Regions from separate parts of the Homo sapiens genome. Here region 1 is linked to region 2. The links are contacts of gene promoters, found by promoter capture Hi-C in blood cells and fetal thymus (Javierre and others, 2016). All regions are on one chromosome and are shown on one strand. Each heading gives the region's core, a stretch centred on a gene start or on the middle of the fragment in contact. The rest is flanking DNA. Distances are from core to core; before and after follow the strand shown.

Region 1 (6,512 bases), core at 106-2,605, about 42 Mb after region 2:
CCCCTTTTGGGTCGGTAGTTCAGCGCCGGCGCCGGTGTGCGAGCCGCGGCAGAGTGAGGCAGGCAACCCGAGGTGCGGAGCGACCTGCGGAGGCTGAGCCCCGCTTTCTCCCAGGGTTTCTTATCAGCCAGCCGCCGCTGTCCCCGGGGGAGTAGGAGGCTCCTGACAGGCCGCGGCTGTCTGTGTGTCCTTCTGAGTGTCAGAGGAACGGCCAGACCCCGCGGGCCGGAGCAGAACGCGGCCAGGGCAGAAAGCGGCGGCAGGAGAAGCAGGCAGGGGGCCGGAGGACGCAGACCGAGACCCGAGGCGGAGGCGGACCGCGAGCCGGCCATGTCGGTGGTGGGGTTGGACGTGGGCTCGCAGAGCTGCTACATCGCGGTAGCCCGGGCCGGGGGCATCGAGACCATCGCCAATGAGTTCAGCGACCGGTGCACCCCGTAAGTGGGAGTCTGCGAGGGTGGATGGGAGGAGGTTCTGGGCCCTTAGTGTGGGGACCCAAGATCGCGGGCTGGCTGTACGGATCACCGCGGCAAACGGAGGCGTTTGGGCAGCGGCGCACCCCTCCGTGGAACTAGGGACCAGCGACCCGGCCAGAGGAGGGATGGGGGGCTTGCCATCACAAATTGGAGAAGGGATTGTCTCAGGGATTCACGGGGGTGAGAGGAGTCCCAGAGTCGAGACTCTAAGGGTCGTCACCTTGTGCGGGCTTCCTATTGGGGGTTTTCAAAACCTACTGGGGGTCGGGCTGCGGCAAAGCCCGCAACTTCGCTCCCTTTTCTTGGCAGGCTGCAGCCTGCGCCTTCCGCGGCCGCCCCCGTATCCCCACCCGGCCTCTCTGAGCTGGCTGAGCCGCCTCCAGCTTGTCCTCCTCCCTTCGCGCATATCTTTGCGCACCGCGGAGCGGGGCTGCCGGCCTTTTTCTTCCGCATTGTGAATCTCGAAATGAACTGGAAGCTTCCAGAGCTTGTGTCGCTGCTTGTCCAGTGAGCAGGCGGATTGTTGTTAGCGACCACGGAAGCAGTCCTATGAAAGATTAGCCCACCTCTTTTTACCCAGTCTCTTCGTTGCTAACATTGTTGGCCTTAATGCCCGGGATCATTGTCGAAAGATGTAAACGTCTTTTTTTTTGCTCTTTGCCATTCATGAGGAATTGTAAACCGTATTTTTAAAATTAATTTTGCACAGTTTATTTAAAAGAGAATAAAAATTGCATACTTTTGTGCTAGGACGCCAAAAGAGGATGGATGTCGTCACTGAACTAAATATTCTATAGGAGCATAGGGTGGGCAAAGGGCAACATTTTAAAAAGCAAGTTTCGTGAAGGGATATTTTCGGACGAGAATATATACAAACATATCTGCATGTGCATTGATGAAAACAAATGATTTCATCTCAAGGAAAATACTGTACCTATTAATTTTTTTCAAATGTCCCAAGCTCAGGATGAAAAGTGCAAAATGAAAACATTGAACCTAAAGGTAGAATGAATGACTGGGGTAATACAATTATTTGGGTGCTGAGAACGTTTATGAAAGTTGAGTGGAAAATCTGAGGCAAAATATTTGGCAATGTTAGTAACGTTAGGAAGACTGTTCTGAGCAACCTGTACGTCTACCCCTGCAGATCTAAGTTTGTGTTTTGGTTAAGGTTTTTTTAATTGGAGTTTAGTAAGAAAGAAAACAGTATTTCAGGCTTTCATGCCTAGATACAGTTTATACTTTGTTCTGGTTGATCCAATAAAACAAAGAAAAGCTTTTCAGAGAAGAGAGTGGGAAAAAAAATTGTGTTATACAGGGACTACTGTGTGAAATCAAAGACAACAGGTATGGCCCTGAAAAATGTGAACTGAGGGCAGTATTGGAGTTCCCCTTAATATGTTTGTTAAACTATAATTGTGGTGGATTCTATTGTATCAGCTACTAATTGTTATTTAGTACAATTAATTTGATTCTCCCCTAGGAAAATGAGTAGATCCATTCTGCAAGTGTATGGTTATTCAGAGCTTACAGTGATGCTCTGATTTTGACGGTTTCTTGTCTAGCTTCTGCTTGGACACTTCTCTGGCTTTTAGGATGCTATTTTATTTAACACTTGCTCAGATAATATAGTTTGAGGATGTTTCTATTATAGCAAATTTAAACTTAAGGGTGGTACTTAATGCCCTCAGTATTTTCCCGTTTTGCTCATCTCGTTTACCATTACTCATACCTAAGCAGGTAGGAGTAACTCACCCAAAATTAGATTATATTTGAATTAGTAATCCAGAATTAGATAACTCCTCTAATCCAAAACCTAATTCACTTACCTTCTTCTCACAAGACTTTTTAAGCTAGTCTCTGCTCTGTTATTGTGCGGTTCCATTTCCATGGTGGCTGAGAAGGTTGTTTCACAGTTGTAAGTCACTTTCCATCTCTTCAAAACAGATTTGATGTAACTGATTAGTCACTCCTTTCCCTCGACATTTATATTCTGTTTTGCCATGGTACTTGTTGTGCATCATTTTTTTCTTTCTCCGGCAGAATCTCCCAGATGGGAACCTCTTTGTGCTCTTTAAACTTCAGAGGTGTAACTTGGGTTCATTTGCTTGCGTTTGCATAAAAACTTTTGATTCCTAAAGAAGCCGGTGGTATATCAGAACAAAAGTCGGTATGACAATGACATTTAGATTTGTACAGAGTTGGTGACTGAAAGGTAGAGTCACATCCTATTTTTTGTTAGTCGTGTGTAGGGTCAAATTAATAATACCGTTAACATATTTAAAACATTTTCAAAGTTAATGTTCGGTTCATAATAACTGGAACCTGGAGAATTCCTGAGCCACGAGCAGAGGTTTTTGGGGTAGTAGAACTGCCACCTAGGTTGGATCTCAGAGCAGCAATTAAGTGGAAGCCCCCTTTGAGTATCTGATGAAAGCTATAGACCTTAAAATTGTGCTATGCTTGTTCCCTATCCCCTAATGGGTAGGACATTTATGTTAGTATTTTTCTCTTATCAGTTTAAAATATCAACCTTTATGCTTTTTAATTTTTTGGAATATATTTTTTTCTAGGTCAGTCATATCATTTGGATCAAAAAATAGAACAATCGGAGTTGCAGCCAAAAATCAGGTATGTTCTTTAAGAGAATTCGGATCACTTTTTAAGGGGGGAGTTTTTAAAAGGAAAATCTCAAGAGACATATAAGAGGGTAAAGTGTGCCTAAGTTTATGTATTTTTGAGTTTTAAAAATGTAATTCAAGTATTCTTTATGAACCTTCAGATGATGACACTCTTTCCTTTCTGTTCCCTTTCCCTTGTTTTATTAAGATCGACTTTAACTTTCTAATCTGCCATCCTTAACTTTTTTTTTTTTTTTTTTTTTTTTTGAGATAGAGTCTCGCTCTGTTACCCAGGCTAGAGTGCAGTGGCGCGATCTCGGCTCACTGCAACCTCCGCCTCCCGGGTTAAAGCGATTCTCCTGCCTCAGCCTCCTGAGTAGGTGGGATTACAGGCGCGTGTCACCACGCCCAGCTAGTTTTTGTATTTTTAGTGGAGATGGGGTTTCACCATGTTGGTCAGACTGATCTCGAACTCCTGAGCTCGTGATCCATCTGTCTCAGCCTCCCAAAGTGCTGGGATTACAGGTGTGAGCCTACGCCTGGCCTGCTGACTTTAACTTTTAGTAACTTTTTGCTGCCTTTCATTTATCTAATTTTTAGAAATTATAAACAAGGCATTTTAAGTTCTTGTGAAGTTTCTCGTGATACTCATTTAAGAGATTCCTTTTATAGAAGGAACTTCTAAGAAATTATGTGTTTAAAAGCATTTTCAGGTTACTTAGTAATTAAGGTAGGACTGGGAGAAATTTTTGTCCAGACCTGTGCTGTTTAAAAAATATGGTAGCCATGTACTGTATTGAGCATTTGAAATGTGGCTCGTCTGAATCAAAATGTGAAGTATAAAATACACATGAGATTTTTTACTTTTTAATCGAATTGAAAAGTAAAGTACGGTATCTGATCAATTTTTTTCTGTTGACTACTTATTGAAGTGATAGTTCCTAAAATATATTGGCCTAAGTTAATTGAAATTAATCTAATCTCTTACCAGTTTTTAACGTGGCTGCTACAAAATTTTATGTAGGTAGCTCTCCTTTATGACTTACATATAATTCTGTTGAACAGCACTGATCTAGACAGACCCCTTGGAGGTGGAGAGAAAAACAGTAAAAGATACGTGAAATGCTCTTTGAGAGGCTCTTTGAAATAAAAAACATTTTTCTAAATACAGAAAATAGATTGCTAAGAAAGAAAATTTTGGATTAGATTGAGTACTGTATTATATATTATGGAATGTATTTAGTACTGACCTATTAAAAAATCAGGTCAGATTTGAAAACAAAAACATCTCTTAAAATGCTTATGTTTAATAAGAAATTGGCACTTTATCAAACTTATGAATCTGCTTTCATTAGAAAATGGTTTCATGTTTTCTAATCCTTTGAATATGTAGGTTGGATTTAACTTTATTTCCTTGTTACATTGGAAGAGAGAGATAACTAAAAGGGGTGAAAAAGGAAAGGAGAAATAGGCACACTCAAAATATGTTCAAAAGGATAGTGGGACTTTAGTTGTAACAATCCTTTAAATGTGCCCATTGAGGATATTGATAGCCTAGACCTAAAATTCTGTTGCATCCTTGTGATTACTTGAGAAGAATCTGTTGAGACTCATATTTGGCCAGTATACTACTAGACATACTTCATCTCAGTTTTAGACACATAAGGAATTTTAAGACCTAAACTTGCTTGAATTCTATATTGTTTGAAAACTAGTACTGCCAAGCTAACTGTATTCTTCCCTTTATTCAAAAAATTAGGTAAGAGAAAAAGTAAATAATATACTGTTTTGGTATTTTTAAGCTAATAATTTCAGAAGTCTTAGTTTTCAATCTTACAGTTATTTCTTGTTTCAAATGAGGTACCCTTGAGTGAAATGTGCTCTGAAGTGGGGCTTTTCAATCTAGAGTTTACCTAAAATATTTGACCAAAACGGTGGATTAAAAAAACACCATCTTTTACAACAGTTTAACAAACGTGCGCCAGTTGTGTAAGATAGCAGTTCAATTTCTTGTTTTTAAAAACCATGGCTCTCAAGTCTTCAGAATACGCACATGCAGTTGAAAACATTAGGTCACTTAGAAACTTGTTGAATTACTCTTCTGCCTTCTACTTTTTGGTGTAGATAACTAGCATTTCATGCTATTGCTAGGAAAGGTAGCGATCCATGCATTTTCTGGCACAGAGTGTTTATCCTGGCCGCTTAGCAATTTATTAGACTATAAAAATTAACTTTAATTTTTTTTTTTTTTGAGAATGAGTTTCACCCTTGTTACCCAAGCTAGAGTGCAATGGCACTATCTTGGCTCACTGCAACTTCTGCCTCCCAGGTTCCAGCGATTCTCCTGCCTCAGCCTCTCAATTAGCTGGGATTACAGGCATGTGCTGCCATGCCCAGCTATAAAAATTAACTTTTTTTTTTGTTTTGAGACGGAATCTCGCTCTGTCGCCCAGGCTGGAGTGCAGTGACACGATCTTGGCTCACTGCAAGCTCCGCCTCCTGGGTTCATGCCATTCTCCTGCCTCAGCCTCCCGAGTAGCTGGGACTGCAGGTGCCCGCAACCACGCCCGGCTAATTTTTTGTATTTTTAGTAGAGACGGGGTTTCACCGTGTTAGCCAGGATGGTCTCCATCTCCTGACCTCGTGATCCACCCGCCTTGGCCTCCCAAAGTGCTGGGATTACAGGCGTGAGCCACCGCGCCTGGCCAAAAATTAACTTTTTTAAACAAAATTATAATTTGGCTATAGTGCTACTAGATCTATTCATTCATTGGGTATAAAACCTCACAAGTTTAGCAGGGAAAAAAAGGAATGAAACAGTGATAAAATTCTAGTGTGTTTGTTCAGAGCTTTAGTGATAGTTTTCACTGTCTTTGAGTTTATCTTGCAGATTTTGAAATCTTTAAAGTCTGTCGTCACACTATTTTGCCTCTTGTTCCCTCTTGCTGCTTACTTTCTGGCATTTTCTATAGGAGAAGGAAAAAGTATAAATAAAATCTGTTCATAGATGGGAAATTCAGTGAAATTGGTGGGCCTCAGGGCAACTTATGTGCACTCATAGGATTGGTTTGAGTTGTAAAGTGAATAAATAAAATTACTAAAATTACTGGTAGGTGGTGAAATTAAAGAAAAAAATTAAAATCTCAAACTTCTTTTTGCAGCAAATCACTCATGCAAACAATACGGTGTCTAACTTCAAAAGATTTCATGGCCGAGCATTCAATGACCCCTTCATTCAAAAGGAGAAGGAAAACTTGAGTTACGATTTGGTTCCATTGAAAAATGGTGGAGTTGGAATAAAGGTAATATAATTGAGCAACCTTAGAAAAATACCAACTTATTAATACTTAAAAATACGAACTTATTTGAGTTATTACTTAAATTTCTTAATTACACCAGGTGGTCTTTTTGTTCT
Region 2 (6,490 bases), core at 2,162-4,661:
CACAGACAAATAACAAACAAATTCAGTCCGATGGCCATAAAAGGCACAGAAAATGAAAGGGATGAAACAGATAAGGATGCTATGTTAGTTGAAAACAACAACGGCTAATACGTCTTGTGTGCTTATTTTTTTTTCTCCCCTCAAAATTTGTATATTGAAACCTAATCACCAATGTGAGTAGCAGGAAGTTGGGGCCTTTGGGGTGATTAGGTTATAAGGGTAGAACCCTCACTGTTGGGATTGGTGCCCTTATAAAAGTGATCCCAGAGAGCTAGCTGGGCATGGTGGGGAGCACTTGTAATCCCAGCTACGTGGGAGACTGAGGCAGGAGAATTGCTTGAACCCAAGAGGTGGAGGTTGCAGTGAGCCAAGATTGTGCCACTGAACTCCAGCCTGGGTGACAGAGCAAGACTGTCTCCAACAACAACAACAAAAAACAACAAAATACCTCATATGTTAGATTTTTTAAATTGAGCCTACAAAAGTAATTTATCCATATCTACGTTTAAATCACTCCATATTTCAATACTTAAATTATTATTATTATTTTTTTGAGATAGGGTCTCACTCTGTTACCCAGGCTGGAGTGCAGTGGTACGATCTCAGCTCACTGCAATGTCTGCCCCCGGATTCAAGTGATTCTCCCGCCTCAGCCTCGGAAGTAGCTGGGCCTGCAGGCGCAGCACCACTACGCGGGGCTATTTTATTTTTTTAGTAGCAAGGGTGGTCTCACCATGTTGCTCAGGGTAGTCTCGAACTCCTGAGCTTGGAGCAATCCACTGGCCTCAGCATCCAAAGTGCTGGAATTACAGGTGTGAGCCACCGCACTTGGCCTCCAATTATTATTATTATTATTATTACTAGTTTTTGAGAGTCTTGCTGTGTTGCCCAGGCTGGAGTGCAGTGGCACGATTGTGGCTCACTGCAAACTCTGCCTCCTGGGTTCAAGCAATTCTCCTGCCTCAGCCTCCCGAGCAGCTGGGATTACAGGCACCCACCATCATGGCTGGCTAATTTTTTTTTTTTTTTTTTTTTAAGTAGAGCTGGGGTTTCACAATGTTGGCCAGGTTGGTCTCAAACTCCTGACCTCAGGTGATCCCAACTGACAGATAAAACTGTGTGTATATGTCATGTACAACATAATGTTTTGAAGTATACGTACATTGTGAAATGGTTAACTCTAGCTAATTAAAAAATGTTTTACCTCACATAGTTATTTTAGTAATGAGAACACTTAACATCTGCTGTGTTTTTCAAAAACACAATGTTTTCCAAGATTACAATGTCATTAACTATAGCCACCATGCTGTCCAATAGATCTCTTGAATGTATTCCTCCTATTCAACTGTAATTATGTATCCTTTGACCAACATCTCCCCAACCCTCCTTCACCCCTAACCATGCCAGCCCTTGGTAACCACCATTCTATTCTCTACTTCTATGAACACCAAAATTATTTAAAGGCTGTACTTGTCAAGAAATATAAATGTATCATTTCAAGTTCAGATAATGTGTGTATTTAATTCTTATTTACCTGCCGTTTGAAGACAATAAAGCATATAGAACACAAAATTTAAACCTGATCTTACCTTTGTAAGATAATCCACTTTCAAATTGTCGATCATCATAGTTTTCTGGGATAGCTCAATTTTTAGTAACTGAATATTATGAAGTAGTTCTTTTCGTTCAATTAGCTGCCTGGTGATTCTGACTTTGCCCTCTCGCTCTTCTGATGAGGAAATATCATCCGTAGGAACTGTTGTTTCTAAACTAATATCTTCAGATTCCAGAGAACTAGAGATGTTCACTTTTTTTGACTCCTTTGAAATTTTTCGAGACATTTTTATTATTATGGATCAGTTTTCTTCTCTAATTTGATTTTAATATTCTGTAGGTTAAAAAACATTAATTCAAATGTACTATAAAATTAACTACAGAAATCATGGACTGTATTAAAGAGAGACTAAGGATTCCTTAAATAAATATTAGGCAATTTAGTGCATCCCAAATCTAGAACAGATTATTGCAGTTAAGTTAATGCTCAAATCAAACACATTAATTCCTAATATGAAGTCAGCCTTCGAGAAACTTAAAAAAACAGTTCCTGCGGGGAGGAATCTTACTTGGAGGAAACAAAGAAATGTACAAGATGAAGAAAAAAGCCCATTATAATCAAGAATGGCACCACTAAAACCAACACATGCTCAAAGATAACAGAAATCACGTCTGAGTTGGTCAGGGAAACGTTACACAGAGGTAGCACTTAGAATCTTTAAAGATTTGGACAGGCATGGTAAAAAGGAGAAATCATGCAGTTATTAATGATACGTAAGTGGAAGTAAAAAAACAAAGCCAAGTCTTGGAATAGTTACTCCTTTCACCGCCCCCCCAACACAAACACAAACACACACACACACACACACACACACACACACGCCCTTAACGATCAAGACTGGAAGGCCTTAAATGTCAAAATAGGGTTGGATTTTATTCTACAGGCAATGAGGCATCATTGAAGATGTTTTAAATAGGGAAAACGGGGACAAAAACATTTTTTATAGATAGCAGAATGAAAACAACAGGATATAAGAAAAATTCAAGAAATTCTAAATAGAACTTACTTCTAACTCTCTCATAAGAATGTTAGCAACTACCTTGTTTTAATACCTCATGATATAACAAATTATGCTATTAAATATTTCAGTTTTTCTAAACTGAATGATAAGGAAAGGTGTGTGGAGGGGAAACAGCGAGAACTATACTAAGATCGGCCTCCCTCCTTCTTTTTGAAGGGAAATAGGTAAGAAAAAGTGAATTCAAAGACAAATTCTCTCCTCGATTACAAAGGGCCCGAGACGGGGACTGCCTATACACTCGGCGTGAAAATTAAGCCCCAAACTTGGCAGCTCGGGGGATTCCTTGCCCCACGCGGGAAAGAAAGCGATGATAGTCGCAAGTTACCTCGAAAGTGTCAATTACTCCACACTGAAGCCTTGACCAGCAGCCAGTGCAGACACCGAGGGACCAAAGGCGTCTCCGGTCGGAAGCACAAGGTTGCAGGCCCTCAACAAGGGATTTCAAGGCAGGGGACCGTTAGGACCCGTAACCAAGACAACCATCTCCGCACCCGCAAGGAGGACAGAACCAGCACTCCCACAAGCCGCCGGAAGTCAACTCTCCCGGATGTTCCGAGGAGCGGAAAGCAACACACGTTGTGAGGTGGCGTCCAGAAGGAAGCCCCGCCTAGGCCACGGGCGGAAATGGCTCCTCGCCTTGCTTTGCCGCCCCTCCCCACTCTCGCCCAATCCCCGCGGCCGTCAGAGAGCCAACCAATGTTTATCTCGGCATTTTCCCGCGAGAAGTGTTACTAATATCCGGGAATGGAAAGGGAAGAACCTCCGGGGTTAGGCGTATTCTAGATTGACGCCTTTTGCTGGAAGAGCGCTGCTGGGGTTAGGATTCTGCGCGGCGAGGCAAGATGCTCAAGTCCAAGACGTTCTTAAAAAAGACCCGGGCGGGCGGCGTGATGAAGATCGTGCGCGAGCACTACCTGCGAGACGACATCGGCTGCGGTGCGCCCGGGTGCGCAGCGTGTGGAGGGGCGCACGAGGGGCCGGCCCTGGAGCCGCAGCCCCAGGACCCGGCGAGCAGCGTCTGCCCGCAACCGCACTACTTGCTGCCCGACACTAATGTGTTACTGCACCAGGTGCGTGGGCGGGCGAACCGCGGACAGCGCGGCCCCACGGGGACAAGGGGGTATGACAGGGAAACTGAGGCCCAGGGAGGCGGGTCTTTGGCAGTGTCACATACCTAGCGAAAGGGAAACCCCCTCGGGACCGAAGCTTCCTGTTCCCCAGGCCGAGGTTCTTTTCCTTGTGCTTTAAAAAATTTAGTTCTTGGAGTCGTAGTTCAGACACGTTATTTTTCTAACTCCTGGTGTCTCTTCTGCCTTAGATTGTAAGTGCCTGGAGGCCGGGGACCTGGGCTTCTGTGGCCTCCAGCCTGCGACTCCCAGGCAGCTTGTAAGTGCCTAGGAACAAAAAACTATGTGGGCCAACGTATTCCTTTATTAATACCCTTAATTCTACGAAGTCTTGTGATTGGTCTGTTTAAGTGTGCTTTTTTTAATAGATCTGAAGGGTTTAGTGACTATTGTCTCGTTTTCTATAGCCAAATAGCTTCTTGGCTTAACTTATTCAGTGTTTTTAAAACATAAAGTATTTATGCCCAACATAAAACAGGATTTTATGTTTGACAGAGCTATTTACAAATGAATATAGGAAAAATTAACTTTATCTTTCTTTAAGATTGATGTTCTTGAGGACCCTGCCATCAGGAATGTAATTGTGCTACAAACAGTTCTTCAAGAAGTGAGAAATCGCAGTGCCCCCGTATATAAACGCATCCGAGATGTGACTAATAACCAAGAGAAGCATTTCTATACTTTCACTAATGAGCACCATAGGTAGGAGGAATATTACGTTAAATATCAGAAAACCACAGGATTAGCAAAATTCGGGAGAGGGTTCCTGTGAGTAATTTATGACATTGTCAGAAGATAAGTGATAGATTTCATACCTTATTTAATTCTTACATGGCTGTGCAGAAGATAATGCTAAGTGGATCTCTCTAAGGTCACACAGGCATTGATGGGCTCAAGCCTAAAACCAAGGTCTGCTGACTCCTAGACTACAATAGGTACTTTAATTTCCAAAATGTTTTCATTTTGAATTGGTTTTAGCATGAGTTGGACCATAGAATCTTGGAAGATGAGATTTGCTTAAGTTCCTGGAATACCATATTATGTGAACAACTAACAGAGGGTAATAAAATATATGAGTTTGTGAAGTTTCTATTTTGTTTAAAAATAGAAAGTAGATTTATTCTTAATGGTCTTTTTAAAAGTTTAATACTTTGCAGCTGATTACATTGAGCAAGATTAGGTTAAGGAATAGAATTCTTTTTTTTTTTTTTTTTTTTTTTTTGAGATGGAGTCTCACTCTGTCACCCAGGCTGGAGTGCAGTGGTGTGATCTCTGCTCACTGCAACCTCCACCTCCCAAGTTCAAGCGATTCTTCTGCCTCAGCCTCCTGAGTAGCTGGGATTACAGTCACGCACCACTATGCCAGGCTAATTTTTGTATTTTTAGTAGAGACAGGGTTTCACCATGTTGGTCAGGCTGGTCTCGAATTCCTGACCTCGTGATCCACCTGCCTCAGCCTCTCAAAGTGGTGGGATTACAGGCATGAGCTACCGTGCCTGGCCAGGAATATAATTCTTTGTTGTGCTTTTAGATTCAAGACCTTTGAACTCAGTGTGTGGTCTCAAAAATATGATATTGCCTATTACGTTATATTACATAAATAATCTATGATGAGTATGGTACTTTTATTGGATTAGATCAGGGCTTCTCAATCTTGGCATTATAGATATTTTGAACTGAATAATTTTTTTGTGGTGGAAAGGCTGTTTTATACATTGTAGTATGTTTAACAGTGTTCCTAGCCTATTTGGCAGGATCACCACCCCTTACCCCCCCCACCACCACCACCACCACCACCACTCAGTTGTAATGATACAAAATGCCCTGAGGGGTGAATTCACTCAATTGAGAACCATTGGATTAGAGTGTAGACTTCTGGTAATGAAATTCCATCAGATTATGCACATTTTTAAAAACCTTAATATCTCAACTTTCTTGATTCTTATATCTCAAACTTCAATGTTCTTGTAAAGAATACCAGTAAAGCCCTTGTAGGCTTCTTATTGTTAGTACCTCCTTGAAATCCAGAAATAGCAACATCACTTGTTTTTCAGTGCAGAAAGACCCAAGTTTAAAACCAATTCAAAAATTTATGACTGTGTCTTTCACTGATGAGCTTAAAACATTAGCAGCTGGGCGTGGTGGCTTATGTCTGTAATCCTGGCACTTTGGGAGGTTGAGGTGGGCAGATCACTTGAGGCCAGGAGTTCCAGACCAGCTTAGCCAACCTGGAAAATCCCTGTCTCTTAAAAATACAAAAATTAGCTGGTTATGGTGGTACATGCCTCTAGTCCCAGCTACTTGCGAGGCTGAGTTGGGAGGATCACTTGAACCCGGAGGTAGAGGTTGCAGTAAGCTGAGATCATGCCACTGCACTCCAGCCTGAGCTACAGAGCAAGACTCTGTTTCAAAAAAAAAAAAAAAGCATTAGCAAGTGCATTCAACGATGAGGAATAAAATAATTCTAAAACTATTAATATAAATCAAATTATTAAATTGAATCTATTACCATTAAGTACTGGAAGCTATTGTAGTGAACTTTGCTGTTGTACTTAAACCTGGCTTTGATGAACAGATTTAAAGAAATAGATGAATGTGTTGACATACTTGGGAGTTTAGATAGAAGAAATACGTAATATCTATTAATATACCTGACTTTTCAGTCTCTACATAGCTTCAGCTATTAGTGTTTACCATGGATAATTTATATGCATTATTTATTAATGA

The links. The method cuts DNA at HindIII sites, captures the fragments that hold promoters and counts their contacts. A CHiCAGO score of 5 or more calls a contact.
Region 1: a contact is called between a fragment that was not itself captured here and the fragment with the promoter of DIS3 in region 2, in 1 of 17 cell types (total B cells). The highest score is 5.4, in total B cells.

Annotation. Positions count from the first base shown.
Region 1 is chr13:31,155,401-31,161,912 of GRCh38, reverse strand. It overlaps HSPH1 (heat shock protein family H (Hsp110) member 1), which reads left to right and starts at 9. Exons shown (of 18, transcript NM_006644.4): 1 at 9-437; 2 at 3,050-3,107; 3 at 6,259-6,399. The coding sequence starts at 331. RefSeq lists enhancers at 1-2, 133-212, 1-369, 370-915. The HindIII fragment of the contact is 798 bases long and covers 957-1,754 here.
Region 2 is chr13:72,778,821-72,785,310 of GRCh38, reverse strand. It overlaps DIS3 (DIS3 exosome endoribonuclease and 3''-5'' exoribonuclease), which reads left to right and starts at 3,411. Exons shown (of 21, transcript NM_014953.5): 1 at 3,411-3,706; 2 at 4,308-4,465. The coding sequence starts at 3,479. It overlaps PIBF1 (progesterone immunomodulatory binding factor 1), which reads right to left and starts at 3,178. Exons shown (of 18, transcript NM_006346.4): 1 at 2,962-3,178; 2 at 1,590-1,888. The coding sequence starts at 1,841. RefSeq lists enhancers at 3,278-3,387, 3,305-4,219 and a silencer at 3,668-3,717. The HindIII fragment of the contact is 4,441 bases long and covers 1-3,844 here.